Regions from separate parts of the Homo sapiens genome. Here region 1 is linked to region 2. Evidence: promoter capture Hi-C in human tissues and cell types (Jung and others, 2019). All regions are on one chromosome and are shown on one strand. Each heading gives the region's core, a stretch centred on a gene start or on the middle of the fragment in contact. The rest is flanking DNA. Distances are from core to core; before and after follow the strand shown. Region 1 has its middle 24 kb from the start of DACT1. Region 2 holds the start of GPR135 (G protein-coupled receptor 135).

Region 1 (2,700 bases), core at 138-2,637, 800 kb before region 2:
CCGGCTAGTCCTGGGTTTATAGATCTGTGCTTGAGCCAGAGTGCTAGGCCTTAGCTCACCATTGGACGGAAGGAAAAGGTCACTAAATCTCTAGTTTCTGCCTATAAATAACACTGGGATGAACTTTTTTGGTTAAGATTTCCCCCCCATATTAAGGATTATTTTCTTAGAATAGAATCCCAGAAATGGAACTACTGAATGTGATTATTTTTAAGACTGTTAATATTTATTGTTGAATGAATGTAGCTAATATTTATTAACCTTTTCTGAGACATTATCTCATTTAATTCTCACAACAGTCCTATACACGTTCCTATTATGGATAAGGAAATAGAGGGCTGGACATGGTAGCTAACGTGTGTAATCCCAGCACTTTGGGAGGCAAAGGTGGGAGGATTGCTTGAGTCCAGGAGTTCAAGACACCATTCTGGGCAACATAGAGAGACATAAATAAATAAATAAATAAATAAATAAATAAATAATTAGCCAGGTGTGGTGGTGCAAACCTGTGGTCCTGGCAACCGAGGAGGCTGAGGTGGGAGGATTGCTTGGGCCCAGGAGGTCAAGGCTGCAGTGAGCCATGATCATGTCACTGTACTTCAACCTAAGTGACAGAGTGGGACCCTGCCTCAAAAAAAAAAAAAAAAGAAAGAAATAGAAAAATGGGGGTTTGTGTAACACTACAATTCATTATTTTGGGCTGTCATCATTTTTCATTATATTTTAAAAGGTATCAATAGAACTTTGTTAATGTGTTTATTTTTGGGGGGCAGAGTGTATGGTAATGGAAGTTTGGTTAAATAATTTTCTTTCTTTTAAAAAACAGTTGTGATTCTTTTTTTGAGCATTAGTCATACAAAGATTTTCAGATTTTTTTTTTTTTTTTTTTTTTTTTTTTTTTTTTTTTTTTTGAGATGGAGTCTCACTCTCTTGCCCAGGCTGGAGTGCAGTGGTGCGATCTTGGCTCACCACAACCTGCACCTCCTAGGATCAAGCCATTCTCCTGCCTCAGCTTCCCGAGTACTACAGGGACTACAGGTGCGTGCCACTATGCCTGGCTAATTTTTGTATTTTTATTTATTTATTTATTTATTTTTTGAGATGGAGTCTCACTCTGTTGCCCAGGCTGGAGTGCAGTGGCGTGACCTCGGCTTACTGCAACCTCCACCTCCTGGGTTCAAGCAATTCTCCTGCCTCACTCAGCCTTCCGGGTAGCTGGGATTACAGGAATGTGCCACTACACCTGGCTAATTTTTTTGTATTTTTAGTAGAGACGGGGTTTCACCATATTGGCCAGGCTGGTCTCGAACTCCTAACCTTGTGATCCTCCCACCTTGGCCTCCCAAAGTGCTGGGATGACAGGCATGAGCCACTGTGCCCGGCCGATTTTTCTATTTTTAATAGAGATGGGGTTTCGTTATGTGGCTAGGCTGGTCTCAAATTCCTGACCTTGTGCTCCTCCTGCCTCGGTCTCCCAAAGTGCTGGGATTATAGGTGTGAACCACCGCGCCCGGCCGAATTTCAGATTTATAAACAAAATCAGTTTAATACTAAAGGATAAACAGTAGGGCTCATTGTGAACTCATTCATCCAATATTTCAGCACCTACCTGTTCAGTGCTACTGTGTAGCACTGTGTTAGGAGCTGTGTGGATACTGCACTAGAACAAAGCTTTACAAGGGGAGAGGCTCTGCTTTGTTCAGTGCTGCATTTCCAGAGCCAGGACAGTGCTTGGCACGCAGTGAATATTCAGGAAATCATTTCAGAATGAATGAAAATATGGTCATGCACTGTTTTTACCAGTTACGGTGAGTTCAGCTGTGGGTGACAGAAACCCCTAAATTACAATGGCTTAAACTGGATGTAAGTTTGTTTTTCACATGAAATAAATCTCGAAAAAAGCAGTCCTGACTGCCAAGGAAGGTTCCTAATACCACCAGGGCCCAGTTTCCTCCTGTCTTATTGCCCTGGATTTCTTGGCATATAATTTTTTACTTCAGAGTCTCAGCTGACTGTGTGGGCTCCAGCCATCATGTCAACATTTCCAAGGAAAAGAAGAAAAGAAGAGCATGCTTCCTGTTTTTCACAGCACTTCCTGGAGGTTGCACACAACTCTTTTACTTAAGTCTCATTGGCCACAACTTAGTTACATTGTCACATCTAGCTGCAGCAAGGTTAAGAAATGTGAACTTCATTATGGGTGGCCATGTGCCCCAAGTAAAATCAGGAGTTCTATTTATGTGGAGGAAAGAAAGAATGTATTTTGGGAACAACTCGCAGCATCTCTTGATAATGAGCTTAAATCTTAGGAGGTGAAATTATAAACACATTAAATTTTAAGTAACCACATAAAACTGTATATTATTGAAATCAAACAAGTAGTACAGATGATAGGAAGCACAGAGAGAGAAGATCCTTACAAAATCTTGGTTGATTAACTGCAGGAATATAGTGAAGGGCAGCATCATAGCTGAGGGGGTGAACCCGATACACAGAGAGTAGTGGGGAGAATTGGAGTCCAGTCCAAAGGCTACAGATGTTTTATATTAGATAGAGGTGGTAAAAATACAAAAAAAATGCACAGTGATTAAGAATAAAATTCAATCTGCTTTTGATCATCAAGAAAAGGTCATAGTAATAGTTTTAAAATCAATATATTTTATTTAAAAAGACTTTTACCACCTTTAAAGAAATCTTTAA
Region 2 (2,700 bases), core at 166-2,665:
CCCGGGCCCTGGCTGGGCAGGAAAGCGTCCACATTCCTAGTCCGGTAGCCCTCCTCGCGGTTGCGCCCTAGGAGCATCGAAATGTTGGGATTGCGGATGGCGTAGATGACAGGGTTGATGGCCCCATTGGCCCAGGTCAGCCAGACGGCCACCACGCTGAGGAGCGAGGGGGCCTGCATGGTCTGGGCCTGCCGGGCGGCGGCCAGCAGCACCAGGAAGCAGTAGGGCCCCCAGCAGCAGATGACGAAGACGATCATGATGAGGACGGTGGTGGCCGTGCGCACCTCGCTGAAGAAGCGCAGCACGCGCGCGTAGGTGTTCACCGGCCGCACGCGCACGTCCGACAGGCGCACCGTCTTGCAGATGTGGTAGTGGCAGAAGCACATGAGCAGGAAGGGCAGCAGGTAGCAGGCCACCACCAGCCCCACGCTGAAGGCCGCGCCCAGCTGCGCGGGGTCCGGGGAGGTCCGGTAGAGGCAGCCGTGGAAGCTCTGCGCCGCCGCGAGTTCCCGGGGCGCCCCGAGCAGCTCCCAGGGCAAGGAGAAGCCCAGGGCCGTCAGCCAGGCGCCCGCCAGCAGCTGCAGCGCGCGGCGGCGGCCGATCTTCTCCCGCGGCGGCCGCACGATAGCGCAGTAACGGTCCAACGAGATGAGCGCCACGCTGAGCGTGGACACGATGCCGAAGCACGAGCTGAAGAAGCGGCTGGCGGCGCAGAAGCCGCGCCAGGGCCCCGCGGCGGCGGCAGGCGCCGAACCCCCGGGCGGAGTGAAGAGGTCCAGGAAGGCGGCGGGCAGGCAGAGCAGCGCCGTGAGCAGATCCGATAGGGACAGCGACAGGATGAAGGCGTTGGTGACGGTGCGGAGCTGCCGGTGCTTCACAATCACCCCCATCACCGCGCAGTTGCCAAGGCTAGACAGCAGGAAGATGAGCAGGAGGACGAGCGCCTGGGCCGCCACTGCAGCTCCGTGCGACAGCAGCGGCGCCGCCTCCGGGCCTAGCGGCCGCCTCACCGCCGCCCCCGCCTCCCGCGCTGCCCCGGACCCGCCAAGGCCGCCGCCACCGGGAGCGGCAGCTGTGCCGCCTCCGCTTGCGTCGCTCAGGTTCCCCAGCGCCGCGGTCGCCACGGTGCTGAAGGAGAGCACGGCCGCCGTGGCCGCGGAGGAAGTCCCGCCAGGTGGGCCGGCCGCGGAGGGGGCGCCGGAGTGCTGGCTGCCCAGTAAGGCCATGCTCGCTGGTGGGCGGGGCGGCTGCGGCTCCTCCATGGGGCCCAGTGGCGGCCGCGGATCTCCTCATCCCGCACCGGGGGCGGCGGCCGCTAGGTCGGAGTGGTGGCTCGGGGCCGGGGGCTAGCGGCCGCCGCGGGGAGCTGGGCTCGGCCGGAGGGGTGGCGGTCGCTGGGGACCTGGCGGAGCCTTTGACGTGGGTTCCAGCGTTGCCGAGGGAACCGCGTGTTTACGCAGGAGCGCGGGGCGGGACGGCAGCCCAGTACCCGCTGCAAAGCCGACCCGCGACACCGCCACTCCGGAGGTTACCGGCCCGGGTGTTCGGGTTTCCGAGAGTGCCAGGTCGACCTCCTGAGGGACCAATGTCCGGCCAGATAAAGTGCCGACTGGCATGCAAACAAATGACCAGATTCAACGAAAGTTCACTCTTGCTCTCTTTTGTAGGGTACAAATGTTCTACAGGCAGGCCTTTTGGGGAGTGGTGGGGGGGGCACTCTGCTTCCTGTGGGTGCTTTTGGTATATACAGGTAGGAAAGGAATCTAGAAAGTGAAGTGAAAGAAAAATCCAGAAGTCTACATCCAGACATCTTAAACTTGAGAAGCAGACTAATTTAAACCAGTAATTCTCAAACTTGAGCTAACAGAATTCACATAGAGGGCGTGTTAAAATACAAGTGACGAGGTCTGAACCCCAGCGTTTCGAATATGTCTGGGGAAGTACCCAAGAATTTGTATCTCTAACGGGTTCGCGGGTGGTGATGATGATGCTGGTCCCAGGACCACACTTACAGAAGCACTGATGTCAAGAGTTTCATAAAATGCAGATTCCCAGGCTGACAGAATTACTAAGGATGGGCCCATGACTCTAAACCCCGTAGGTGATTCTGATACAGGTGCTCTGAGGAGCTAGGATAGTTCCTTTAGATGTTACTTCATTTCCAAGGGCCTGGACCTCAGGCCCCTACTGGCTGATAAATGGGGGGAGAGGGATTGGTGCCTTGCCCTGCTAGCAGCCTTCATCTGTTCTCAGGAATGGGGTATGTTTTGAGTCTAAGGTGCTGCCAGCCTGGCAATCACCACAGATGCAGCTCCAGGTACCTGGCTGGGAGATACGGGGAAAAGAAAGGCAGGGCTACCCAGGGAAGTTGCATCTCAAGTTTCTGGGCATGGCCTCTAATGGGGAAAAGTGTGATAAACCCTCAGGTTAACTAACCCTGGGCTCTTCGCTAAAGCAGTGGTTCACAGAGTATGGACATTGGACCAGCAGCATCAACATCCCCTGGAAACCTTGAGAAATACAAATTATCAGGCCTACAGTGCATAGGATACCCCTGATCTACTGAAACTCCTGTGGTGGGGCCCAGGCACCTATGTTTTAACAAGCCCTCCCAGTGATTCTGATGCACAAATTTGAGAAACACTGCTCTAAAGAATGACTAGTATATTTGTAGATCTTAGAATCAATGGTATTAGTATT

The links. The method cuts DNA at HindIII sites, captures the fragments that hold promoters and counts their contacts. A contact is called where the count stands out against the background at its distance.
Region 1: a fragment that was not itself captured here is called in contact with the fragment with the promoter of GPR135 in region 2 in 2 of the 25 tissues and cell types used here (H1 embryonic stem cells and IMR-90 fibroblasts).

What each region holds. Positions count from the first base shown.
Region 1 is chr14:58,660,143-58,662,842 of GRCh38, forward strand. No RefSeq gene overlaps it. Among named protein-coding and RNA genes, the nearest start is that of DACT1, 24 kb to the left of the region's middle. The HindIII fragment of the contact is 4,345 bases long and covers 1-2,700 here.
Region 2 is chr14:59,463,965-59,466,664 of GRCh38, forward strand. It overlaps GPR135 (G protein-coupled receptor 135), which reads right to left and starts at 1,416. Exons shown (of 1, transcript NM_022571.6): 1 at 1-1,416. The coding sequence starts at 1,262. It also overlaps a transcript of L3HYPDH not described here. RefSeq lists a silencer at 947-1,486. The HindIII fragment of the contact is 12,129 bases long and covers 1-2,700 here.